Regions from separate parts of the Homo sapiens genome. Here region 1 is linked to region 2. The links are contacts of gene promoters, found by promoter capture Hi-C in human tissues and cell types (Jung and others, 2019). All regions are on one chromosome and are shown on one strand. Each heading gives the region's core, a stretch centred on a gene start or on the middle of the fragment in contact. The rest is flanking DNA. Distances are from core to core; before and after follow the strand shown.

Evidence for each region. Contacts are between HindIII fragments. The study calls those that stand out against the background at their distance.
Region 1: a fragment that was not itself captured here is called in contact with the fragment with the promoter of RBM17 in region 2 in 3 of the 25 tissues and cell types used here (IMR-90 fibroblasts, liver and mesendoderm cells).

What each region holds. Positions count from the first base shown.
Region 1 is chr10:5,916,452-5,922,773 of GRCh38, forward strand. It overlaps FBH1 (F-box DNA helicase 1), which reads left to right. Exons shown (of 21, transcript NM_178150.3): 10 at 1-5; 11 at 969-1,056; 12 at 1,139-1,225; 13 at 1,891-2,027; 14 at 4,807-4,906; 15 at 4,997-5,118. Among named protein-coding and RNA genes, the nearest start is that of FBH1, 29 kb to the left of the region's middle. RefSeq lists an enhancer at 440-1,639 and a silencer at 2,421-2,621. The HindIII fragment of the contact is 6,688 bases long and covers 700-6,322 here.
Region 2 is chr10:6,084,737-6,090,825 of GRCh38, forward strand. It overlaps RBM17 (RNA binding motif protein 17), which reads left to right and starts at 4,298. Exons shown (of 12, transcript NM_032905.5): 1 at 4,298-4,457. RefSeq lists enhancers at 3,950-3,999, 4,956-5,794 and silencers at 4,160-4,599, 4,610-4,699, 4,970-5,029. The HindIII fragment of the contact is 7,744 bases long and covers 2,635-6,089 here.

The DNA of each region.
Region 1 (6,322 bases), core at 2,794-5,293, 170 kb before region 2:
AACTGGTGAGTGTCTAAGTGTCTGAAGTGTTAGGGATCTGAGGATGGGGGAACAGGGGAAGTGTTAGGGATCTGAGGATGGGGAAACAGGGGAAGTGTTAGGGGTCTGAGGATGGGGAAACAGGGGAAGTGTTAGGGGTCTGAGGATGGGGAAACGGGAAGTGTTAGGGATCTGAGGATGGGGAAATGGGAAGTGTTAGGGGTCTGAGGATGGGGGATCAGGGGAAGTGTTAGGGATCTGAGGATGGGGGAACGGGAAGTGTTAGGGATCTGAGGATGGGCAAACAGGGAGTGTGGGACAGCATTATTTCTTCTTTCATTTCTTCAGACCTGGTCATAGGAGGTTGAAGGTGGGAGGGTGAGGCTGTAGGCCCATGGTGATGGCTGTGAATTGTTGGGTATTTTCTCCTGTGAAGGACACTGGTGACCATCTCACTTAAGCCTCGGAATAGTCCTCCCATTTAACAGAGAAGGCAGACATGGAACGACCCGCCTCAGTTTATAAGAGCTTGTCACTGGGGCTCCTGGACCTCAAAACTGATCTTAACTGAAGGCTGGAATCTCTCCTGATTTTCTTGGGTTATTGGTTCTATGGAATAGATTTTGCTAGTGGGAAAGTCTGTTTCTTTTTTTCATCAAGTCTTTTCAATCATGTGCCATTGTTTTTGTGAATTAAGCATCAGTCATAAATCTAGAAGAACAATTTGGCCTTTTCTGGTTCACCTAACTGTTATGATCTCTGTCCTGTCACGGGCATGGCACGGCCCGGCTGCTTCCTGTCTCAGCACTGGAGACCCTCTGGCGTGGAGAGGCTGTTGAGGAGACCCAGGAGGTTAGGGTGGTGTCTGCGGTCCCCCTTCTGTGAGGATGCCCTGGCTCCACTGCTGTATGGGAGTTGACAGTGTGACCGCAGGGTGCTGCCTTTGCCAGGGTCTCAAACTCTGGGTTACCATATGCTTTACTTCCTAGAATGGTGTCCTTGAAGCGAGCCGCCTCTGGGATAACATGCGGAAGCTGGGGGAGTGCACAGAAGAGGCGCACCAGATGACTCATGACGGTAGGCGGCTGCCGAATGGCGGGGACTGGCCAATGGGACTGCCTTCCTGGCGTTACAACTCCTGCGTCTCTCCTTATTTTAGGCTACTTGAAACTCTGGCAGCTGAGCAAGCCTTCGCTGGCCTCTTTTGACGCCATCTTTGTGGATGAGGCCCAGGACTGCACACCAGGTGATACACTGTTCAGGACATCAGTAGTGTCAAATACGTAGAAACAGCGCCATGATTATGTAAGAGGACACCTGTGTGAACTAAGTTGATTATTATTATTTGTGATAAAGAAGAGGATCTTCATACTTACCTTAGGATTTCAAGCTGCCCCTTCCCCTCACCCAAGCAGATTTCTCTGTCACCATAGGTTTTGCTTAGGTTGTTCTTAACATGTTGACCAAGTTGTAGACCAGCAGACGACAGGGACCTAGACTCATGCTCTGTGGGAAGAGATCGTCCATTGACAGGGAAAAGCTTGTGTTGTCTACTTCTCAAGTGGCTAGGAGAGAACAGACAGTGTTATCCGTCTGACTTTGTAGGTCAATTTTGAGTGCTATAATATTAGAGAAGACACTGCCTCATTTTAGATTTGCCTGTGTTGTTTTCTTATATTCCAACAATTCATCCAAGGCGAAACATAATCTGCATTCCTAGCACCAGAAACTGTTTCTTTTGTCCATTATAAAATGGCTGCTTTTGATGGAGTGTGCCTGTCCTACAGGAAAAGGCGACCGTGAGGTCCAGTGTGCCCTGGCTTAGCTTCGTGGAAGTGTTTTTGTCCTTTTCTTTTTGCTGCCTGGGGTGGAGGCCTCAAGGTTTCTCACTTTTCCTCTCGTTGGTTACAGCTATCATGAACATAGTTCTGTCTCAGCCATGTGGGAAAATCTTTGTAGGGGACCCGCACCAGCAGATCTATACCTTCCGGGGTGCGGTCAACGCCCTGTTCACAGTGCCCCACACCCACGTCTTCTATCTCACGCAGGTAAGTGCGCACTCTGCATGGGAGGCATTGCATCTCTCTCCCAATGTCTTACGTGCCAGGCCCTGTGAAAGGTGGTATGCCAGGCTCACCAGATCTAGCAAATCCTTGCTTCTAAGCCATGGTTCTCAAAGTGTGGTTCTCAGGGGTCTGCCAAGTCACACTGTTTTCATAAGAGGTGTGTGCACAGCGGTCGTCTGAGGAAGAGCTGCTGCGGCTGAACTGTGAACCGATGGCTGCTGCCGCCTTGTACATTTGTGCTTAGAACAGTTGTTAGACCAGCGCTGGTTGTTCAGACTTGTGTATTTGGCACTTTTTCAAAGACAAGTGAAACAAGCTGCGACTTCAGGGAAAATAACTGACAGTGTTTGTTGTCAAAAGTAACATCTTTGCTTTCAAGTGAAATTAAAATGTTGGCAAACTCTCCCATAATGAATGTGACAACTCACAGTGTCCTTGATTATGCGAAAAGTTTATTATGCGCTCCTTCCTTTCCAATCACATGTCTGTGTGAGGTTGAATTTTCTTCATGTGTGTCAGCCAAGACAGTATATCTCAGCAGGCAATGCAGATGTGAACACAGGAAGCCAGCAGTCTTCTGTTATGCCAGGCATTGAAGAGATTTGCAAAAATGGAACATGGTGCCACTCTTCTTGCTGCATTTTTTTTTGTTCTCGGAAATATGTTTCAAAAAATATGTTCTTTATGTCATCATATAAGAGGCTTTTGGCTGGGCATGGTGGCTCATGCCTGTAATCCCAGCATTTTGGGAGGCCAAGAAGGACAGATCACTTGAGGTCAGGAGTTCAAGACCAGCCTGGCCAACATGGTAAAACCCTGTCTCTATTAAAAATACAAAAATTAGCCAGGTGTGGTGGCTCCCGCCTGTAGTGTCAGCTACTCAGGAGGCTGAGGCAGGAGAATCACTTGAACCCAGGAGGCAGAGGTTGCAGTGAGCCGAGGTCGCACCATTGTACTCCAGCCTGGGTGACAGAATGAGACTCTGTCTTAAAAAAAAATAGTTTTTAATAGTTATTTTTAAATGAATTAAAATTTATAATATGGTAAATATAGATAGATAGAGCTCATGTAAATAAAAGCTCTTTGGAGGCTTTTTAAGTGTGATTTTTAAGTGTGAAGCATCCTGAGACCAGCAGTTCGAGAACCACTGCTTTTAAGAAACTTATTTCTGATTAGAAGAGATGTCTCACTTGGATGAAAGTATCAACTGTGCTGTGTTTTGTGATGTTATTGAAAGTTCCGTAGACGCCTCTGTGACTCTTCCCTTGAGCTCCTACTGCTGTGGTGATTTAGGGTAGCGTCACTGCAGAGGTGATTTGTTCTTTTAATAGATGGTATTTTTTTAGAACAGTTTCAGATTTACAGAAAAATCGAGAGGAGAGTTCCCATATATCCTGTACTCAGTTTCCCATTACTAACATCTTATCGTCTTATATTAATGTGGAACACTTGTCACGATAATGAACCAACATTGATACATTATTATGGACTGAAGTCCATGGTTCATTTGCATTTCCTTAGTTTTGAAATAATGTCTTTTGTGACTTCAGGAGCCCATCCAGGATCCCACATTACATGTAACCATGTGTCATGAGGCTCTTCTTGGCTGTGACAGTTGCTCAGACTTTCCCTATTTCTGATGTGACCTTCACATTTTCCAGAAGTTCCAGTCAGGCATTTGTAGGCTGCCCCTGTGCTGGGATTTGTCTAATGTCTTTTCTCATGGTTAGGCTAGAGTCCTGGGTTCTGGGAGGAAGACCACAGAGGTGAAGCGCCATTTTCATCACATGGTGTTGAGGTGCATACTGTCACCATGGCTCATGACTTGATGTTGACCTTGACCACCTGGCTGATGTAGTGTTTGTCAGGTTTCTTCACTGTAGAGTTCCACTTTTTTTCATCCTTTCCTTACTGGATGCTTTGGAAGGAAGTCCCTATATGCAGTCCACACTCAAGGAGTAAGTGTTGGAGAATCTTCCCAAATTATTTGGAATTCTTCTGTAAAGGAGATTTGTTTTTTCTCTCCCATCTATTTAAATATTCAATCATTTATCTATCTTAATATGAACTCATGGATATTTATGTTATAATTTCGGTTATGGTTCACTCAGAGTAGTTTTATAGCAACAAAGTAGTGTTTGTTTAAAGTCTAGTTTTCGTTTGACTGTTACTGCTATTCACCAAAGCACATGAAGTTGTGTGTGCATGGAAAAAGGCTGTACACACCCCGAGTGTAGGGAAGAATGATATCTTGCCAGCTGGAGGGGCGAAGGAAGCAGGGTCTTGGGCTGAGTTTTGAAGGTTAGGAAGTGACTTTGGTGGATGAAAGTCAGACAGAAAACCGCGTGGGCTGAGGCAGGGCAGCACGGACAATGTGCAGGTGCTAGTGCTTCTGCCATGGCTGGTTGGTGCAGGGCAGTAGTTTTAAAGGTAGTGTGGAGAGGGATCTCAAAGGCAAGGGGAGAAGCCCTCCTTACCCGATCTTCATCTTTTGTATGATTTAGACTTCACTAGATTTGATTTGGAGAAAAGGGTAGATTTGCTTAAAAGAAAAATTTACTATTGGTGTTGAGAATAATGGAAAATAAAGACTGCTGAGTTGTGAAGGACCTTGAAAGTGAGCCTGTGAAGTTCGCTTTCCATGCGGGGGGTCAGGAACAACTTGTAGGGTCTGGCCCGGCCAGGCTGTGGCAGCAGTGATGGAAATGCACGGACACACCACAGGGCGGGCTGCTGACTCCCTCTGTCTTGTTGTTTTCAGAGTTTTCGGTTTGGTGTGGAAATAGCTTATGTGGGAGCTACTATCTTGGATGTTTGCAAGAGAGTCAGGAAAAAGACTTTGGTTGGAGGAAACCATCAGAGTAAGGCTTTTAGTTACTCTTCTCTTTTGTGTTACAAAAGTTTTCCTCTTTATTTCAATTTGCCATAGAGTTTGTGCTCTCTCCCTAAAGGTGGCATTAGAGGTGACGCAAAGGGGCAAGTGGCCTTGTTGTCCCGGACCAACGCCAACGTGTTTGATGAGGCCGTACGGGTGACGGAAGGGGAATTCCCTTCAAGGATACATTTGATTGGGGTAAGAGTACATTTCTGTTGACCACTTCATGCACAGAAACGTTGTAGACGAACATACCCAATGGAAATGTTCACCTTCCTTGGGATTATCATGCAAGAAAGCATTTGGGTTTTTGACTCTTTCCACCAGGCTGCACCATGAGTGGTCTCTATCCCAGGCCATTCTGATTATGCCAGCGAAACATTCCTGGAAAGGCAGACACAAGAAGGGCTGGGGACCTTAGTTTCCACTCTTTTAACAATGAATGCCCTTCTTCCCTTGGCAATGCCAGTGAGGCCGCGGGTTACTGGAAGCTTTTCTAGTCATGTGTTGTCATTAGTGTGAGAACAGCTGAGCTGACAACACGCAGAGTACACACCTAGGCTCTAGTTCTGACTGGTCACTAACCGTGTGTGGCTTGGGGCAAGTCACAACTTCTGTATGCCTCATTCTCTCCATCTCAGATAAAATAATGCCTTGCCTTACCTGTTTCACAGGGAGTTAGAAGGATTCAGTGGCATGTTTACAGCATTTTTAACCCTGAAGCACAGTTATATGATAAAAAGATATTCACTCATTCATTTATGGAAAGATTTTCAAGAGCCTACTATGCATTAGGCACTCAGTGAATATAGTAGTGAATCATAATCAAAAGGTGTTTTAAGTTTTTTGTTTATAAAGACTATATAACAATGGTATAGAAATTTTGGAACCTAAAAAAAGAACACATAATCCCAGTATTTCATATAATAATTCTCATTTTTGCTATTTTTGTCTTTGTCCTTATAGATGTGTATTTTTGCATAATTGCAATTGTAGGGTACACAGAAATGGATGCTGTTTTTCACTCAACACATAGGCATATTTTCTTTCATTAGTACTTTGATGACCTTATAATATTTGGTCTGGTAGATATAACATAATTTAGCCATGGTCATTGTTGTAAGAGTAGTATTTTTGGAATATCATACACACTGGCATGATATAAAGTAAGTGGTTCTCTACACCTCTCTTAAATCCACTTACTAGCTGTACCATGTGTCATTACACGTGATCACACACCTGGTTGTGGGTTATAATGTCAACTGTGTTATTTTGCCCGCTGTTTTATGTGAGTGTTTTATGTGTCCCTCCCTAAAAGATGACAAGCTCTTGGAGTGTGGGGCCCTGGTTGTGTCTGTCTTCTATGTGGGGCCTGGTGCTGTGTGAGTGCCGGAGCCCAGCC
Region 2 (6,089 bases), core at 3,048-5,547:
CTATGTACTTTAAAAATTGATGATCTCCTTCATTATATTTTTATTTTTATTTTTCTCTTTTTTGAGACAGTCTCACTCTGTAGCCCAGGCTGGAGTACAGTGGTGAGATCTCAGCTTACTGCAACCTCTGCCTCCCAGGTCTGAGCGAATCTCCTTCCTCAGCCTCCTGAGTAGCTGGGATTATAAGCGCCCACCACCATGCCCGGCTAATTTTTGTATTTTTAGTAGAGACGGAGTTTCACCATGTTGGCCAGGCCGGTGTGGAACTCCTGGCCTCAAGTGATCCACCCACCTTGGCCTCCCAAAGTGCTGGGATTATAAACGTGAGCCACCGCGCCCAGCCTTCTTTCATTATTTTTATTACAAAAGCAATGCAAGCATATTACTCAGAGATAAAAAAGGCAAACAAGCAAAAAAATTTAAATAAAGAATCCTGATAATCCCTATCTGGAGCCAGCCATATTGGCAAATACCTTATAGATACTTTGTATATATTTATAAATTTTTAAAACAAAAATGGGATCCTTCCATGTAAATTATTTGTCTCTCAACATAATTGAATTTCCCTAAGTTGTTATTGTTCGCTAGTTTGTTCCTATATTTTTACTATTAGAAACCTTACAGAGCAGGAATAACTGTAGAGAATGATTTAGAAAGACAAAAAAAGTGAAAAAACTTTAAAAAATCTGTGAGATGGGCCGGGCATGGTGGCTCACACCTGTAATCCCAGCACTTTGGGAGGCCAAGGCGGGTGGATCACTTGAGGTCAGGAGTTTGAGACCAGCCTGGCCAACATGGTGAAATATCATCTCTACCAAAACTACAAAAATTAGCAGGGCGTGGTGGCAGGCGTCTGTAATCCCACCTACTCAGGAGGTTGAGGCAGGAGAATTGCTCGAACCCAGGAGGTGGAGGTTGCAGTGAGCCCAGATCATACCATCGCACTCCAGCCTGGGCAACAAGAGAGAGACTCCATCGAAAGAAAAAGAAAGAAAGAAAGAAAGAAAGAAAGAAAGAAAGAAAGAAAGAAAGAAGGAAAGAAGGAAAGAAGGAAAGAAGGAAAGAAGGAAAGAAGGAAAGAAGGAAAGAAGGAAGGAAGGAAGGAAGGAAGGAAGGAAAGATTTCTGAAATGGCCGAAGCTGCTTAGAGATATACATGCCTGTAATCCCAGCACTTTGGGAGGCCGAGGTGGGCGGATCACCGGAGGTCAGGAGTTCGAGACCAGCCTGGCCAACATGGTGAAACCCCGTCTCTACTAAAAATACAAAAAGTAGCCGGGCATGGTGGCGGGCACCTGTAATCCCAGCTACTTAGGAAGCTGAGGCAGGAGAATCGCTTGAACCCGGGAGGCGGAGGTTGCAGTGAGCTGAGATTACTCCATTGCACTCCAGCCTGGGTGACAAGAGCAAGACTCCGTCTCAAAAAAAAAAAAAAAAAAAAAGATACAAAAAAGGAGACAAAAATCATTCTCCACGGTGCACCGAAAGCATCCCTACACACAGAATCCTTGGGAATACTTGTTTTTGATCAAATTATAATCTGATCAAATTGTCTTAACTAGCTTGTCTTCCCTCCAGGGCCCACACCCCTTTCTTTTCCTGTTTCGGGGTCCCCCGGTTCCATCCATGCTGCATACTGTAGCATTTCACCCAGCCTTTCCTGCCAGCCCAAACACCGCCCTTATCTTCTTTCTTCCTGGAACATCTGCCCTGCTAATTCCCAGTTTCCGATGAATTCTACCATCTGCTGCCTGCCAGCCTCCTGCCAGGCGCTGAGCACAGCTGGAGCAGATCACACGACTTGTTTACGCAGGAGTCACTACCGATGTTTGCTCTGCAGCCCCGAGGGGGCGCTCCAGCGCGTCTGTCTTGTCCCTCTTCTAAAGCTCCACCGTTTTGTGTGCGCTTTCTGATAGTTGCATGGCCTGGGTTCTGTTCCCCCATTGGGTTAAGCTTTGGATTCTCGGTGCATAAAATAAAGATGATATTTGTTACTATTGACAGGAAATGGAGGCAAGCATGAGACTGCTCACGTACTAGGAAATGAAGTAAGGCAGTTTTCCTCCTGGAAGTTAAACTAGAAAATTCCTAAACAATGGATGTGATTGCATCTATGGTCTGTAAACCAAAAAGTTACTTGTGTATGTATGATGGAATGATTTGGGAACAAAGGCACAAATTTTCAACCAAAAAGGGAGGAAGGAGTGGTCTCAGACTGCAGAGTGGAGACGCCAAGCAGATTAGGGAGTACAGGTAGACAGCAGGTTCAACCTGGAGGAAGTCCTGCAGCTCTGGACCTCCTAATCAGGGCTTTTGCACCCCCACCGGTGCTTTGATCACGGGGTGGGGAGAGACCCAGTCTAGACACCTTCTATCTTTGCCCTTCTTCCTTTTTCTGTTTACACGCTATTACTTTCTGCTTCTTTTATTGACCAAGTACGTCCTTCTGCTTCTCACATTTTTATTTTATTTCCAGTTTCTTGCACAAGTGCTTAATTCATTTAGCTTTTTCCAAGTTTTTAATTGATACAAAAACTTAAAACCATGAATTTTCCTCTTAGTACTCTCTGAGCTAAATCCCATGAGTATGTCATTTTCATACTTTTCTAGATATTATGTTATTTTGATTTTGTTTTCCTTTTTAGTCCAAGTGTTATTTAAGCATTTAAAAATTTTCAAGGGGTAGGCATGTTTTATTTTCTGTTTTTTCATTAATTTCTACTTTTATTGAATTGCTGCAGATAATATTACCGATATGATTCTACTTATTGGACTATGTTAAGATTTTTCTCTGTGGTTTAAAATATGACTAATTGTTGTGAATATTCCTTAGACACTGGAAAAGATGTAATGTCTATTTAGGGGACAGTGTTTGATATATTAGATCTATCATAGGAATTGTATTTTTAGGTCTTCTCAATCCCCATTTACTTTTTGTACTCTTCGTCTGGCAAGGAGTGTGCCAATTATTTCTGTCTATTCACTCACTCCTACAGTGTTTGCTATGAATAATGAGATTATGTGATTTGGTGCAAAGATTTTCCTATTTTTCCTATTTTTTTCTTGATTGTGAATTGTGCTCCTCAAGATTATAAAATGTCCTTCTTAATCTTACTTAATGCTTTTTGCCCTGAAATCAACTTTGTAGTAAGCGGTTTGTGATTCCTGATTTTTTTAATTTTTTTGCATATTCCTGGTATATCTTTTCCAATCTTGTATTTTCAAACTCAGAATAACGTTAGCACTTTCTTGTATACAACACTGAGTTGCATGATGGTTTGTGCTCCTATCTGAGATTGTAGTTTTTTAGTAGGTAAGCTTAGGTCTATATTTCTTCTTGTGAGACATTTGGTCTTGTTCTGTCATATAGTTTGGTTACGCTTTCTGTTTTGTAACTTTTTAAAATATTTCCCTATATATATATTTTTTTTGCTGTGGTTTTGTGTGTGTGTGTGTGTGTGTGCATGCATGTATGTGTGGGTGCATGTATGTGTGGATTATTTGAAAGCTTTGTAGTTTTGTTCTGGGTTACCCTCAGAATCATACCATCCCATGACGTCCTTAATCCTCTATTTCTTTAGATTGTCTTTTGTCTCTCCACTGTATTTCTTTTTTCCCCCTTTTCCCGTTTTCTTAATGACTGGATTTTAATGGATTATAGTAACTTTCTTGGTATACTCCTTCGGACTAAGACGTCTGCTTAAATCTCTACTATTTGATTTATCGGCTTGAACTCTATTTGACACCCAATTAATTACAGATGTAAAAATCATATTTACCCGAAGTCCCACTTTCCCTTTCCCTCCCTGCTTCTGTCAGCGACGTCGTTTTTAAAGACCGAGGCTTTATAGCATTGACATTCTTTTCTGTACCCCTAATCGCGGCATCTGTTTCCATAATCTTACGCTTAACCTCGTGCTCCTTGCCATCCTTTTGCAGCATCTGGCCTATGCAGACTTATTTTCAACTTTTTGCTTATATAGGAGTGGCTTTGAATGAATGAGATCGAGGGGCCTGGAGGGACTTCCCCCACCTCCCCTATCAGAAAGCCCGGCCTCGGACCACTTCTCCTCCTCACCATCTGGGGGCGCTGCCGCGCTCCCCAAGCCTTGTGGAATTTCGAAAATGTGCGCCAGGGCGACACCTCTTGATGGTAAGAAGACGCCGGCGGAGGGGAGCGTGCAGTGCGGTCCTCCCGCGGGCAGGGGGCAGTGCGGCAAGGCGCCCTCGGCGCAGGCGCAGAGGCCGAAGCAGGCGCAGGCGCAGGCGGGGCGCAGGCGCGGGCGCGCTCTCCCGGCAGCCCGCGCTCCCTGACCCCGCGCCGCCGAGCGCCCTGAGGACTCAGCGAAGGGTGGGCGCCGCCGAGGCCTCCTGCCGCTGGCGGGTTTCCGCGGAGTGCCGCCCGGCTCCGCTCTGCCGCCGGCGCGGCTCATGGGCAGAGTCGGCCGGGCGGGCCGGGTAAGTGGCGCCCCGGCGGCCCCGGGTGGGTGGCCTGGCGGGACCTGAGGCGGGCGCGCCTTCCCGGGAGGCGCTAGACGCAAGCCCGCGGCTTTAGGCCCGTCGCGAGGGGCGGAGGCCGGGCCAGCGCAGCCGGAGCCTCCGAGGGTCTCAGTCCCCGCGGCGGGCGCTGGTCTCTCCACGCGGCTGCGGCCCGGTACCCTCCGCCCGCCGCCGCCTCTGGTGACCCTGGCCCTGACCTTCTCCCTCTTCCCTTCCTCCTCCTCCTCCTCATGTCTGCCTCGGGCTGTTTGGTGCTGAAGAGCGTTTCTTCTCCGTCTCGTGCACCGCATCCTGACGAAATTGTCTGGTCACCAGAACCGAGTAGCCCGTAGCGTGTCCCCCCTGGCCCTGCACGGTTGCCCCTCTCTGGGGCTCGGAGCCGGTTCCTCCCGGGGTCTCAGAACTGGGAGTGCAGACGTTGGCGTTTCTCAGACTCCGGAGCTGCCCGGGACAGGAATGCAGCCCTAACCCCGGCGTCGCCTCGGCTCGTGCAGTTTGAGCGGTGTTTCAGCGCTCACGTCCGACCCCAGGCAGTCTTTGAGCTTCGCCTCTTGCCCCGAGAATGTGTAATGATCGGAGAATGCAGGTGGAATGAGGTTCTGCCCCTGCTTGCAGGAGTTTGGTTTCTGGGAAAGCAGGCGTGAAAACCCAGGCCCGGGTTGATTTGAGAAACGCAAGTGGGGTCTGGAAGGACCTCTCTTGAGAGAGGAGGTCATGCTTATGTTGAGTCTTGAAGGTACGTTGTTAGATGTGAGAGGTGGGAAAAAGGCTGCCGGCGGAGGAAGTAAGTGCGAAAGTAGCAGAAGCGAAGCCCCGTAGTGCGTTCTGGAAGCTGCAGGTTAGGCAGAAAGAAAGGTTTGAGGAGGGGCTGCTGTGTTTCCAGGAGTAGTCAGGTCAGAACATGGAGGTTTCTTGAGAAGCAGTAAAGAAGCGCCATTGAGGGTCCTTATTTTGCTAGAGCCAGGCATATGGATGGGAAATAGGATATTCTAGATAAGGGCAAGATTCGCATATACTCAAATAGATGGGTAGATGTGCACTGGCTCCCCGCAGCAGATGGAGTTTTTAAAAGGATGCAACACAAGTTTCCACATTTTTAGTTGTAAAGGCTGCAGACATTTTGATCGTAATGACAGCTTTTAGGGAATATGGGGTAACAGTTTAGTGAGCTAAACGAGAGGGCTTTATTTTTAGAGTTAGTTAAGCAAGGTGCTGCGTGCTGTCCAGTTTATAACAGAGCAGGTTGTGCGGTTGTGGAGCTCTGCGGAACCAAAGGCAGCCTTTCTGGAGGCTCTTGAGAGAATTGTTGTACACTTCCAAATGCAGCTTTATTTAAAGTGGATTTCTTTTTACCTGGTTTGTTTTAACTTACCTTCCCATTCTCCCCTGCCTATGAATTTTTCAGACCTCCTCCCAGCAGGGAACAGATGATCCCAGGCTAGTCATCTCTCAAACCTTTCATAATAGTCAATAGTGAAGGAAGTTCTGTTATTCGCCTAAATTACAGGTGACTGTAGTGGACTGTGTTTGCAATACTAGCCTATGGCATTTTGGTAACAGCCAGAGGGTGGGATTGAATGGAAAGATTAA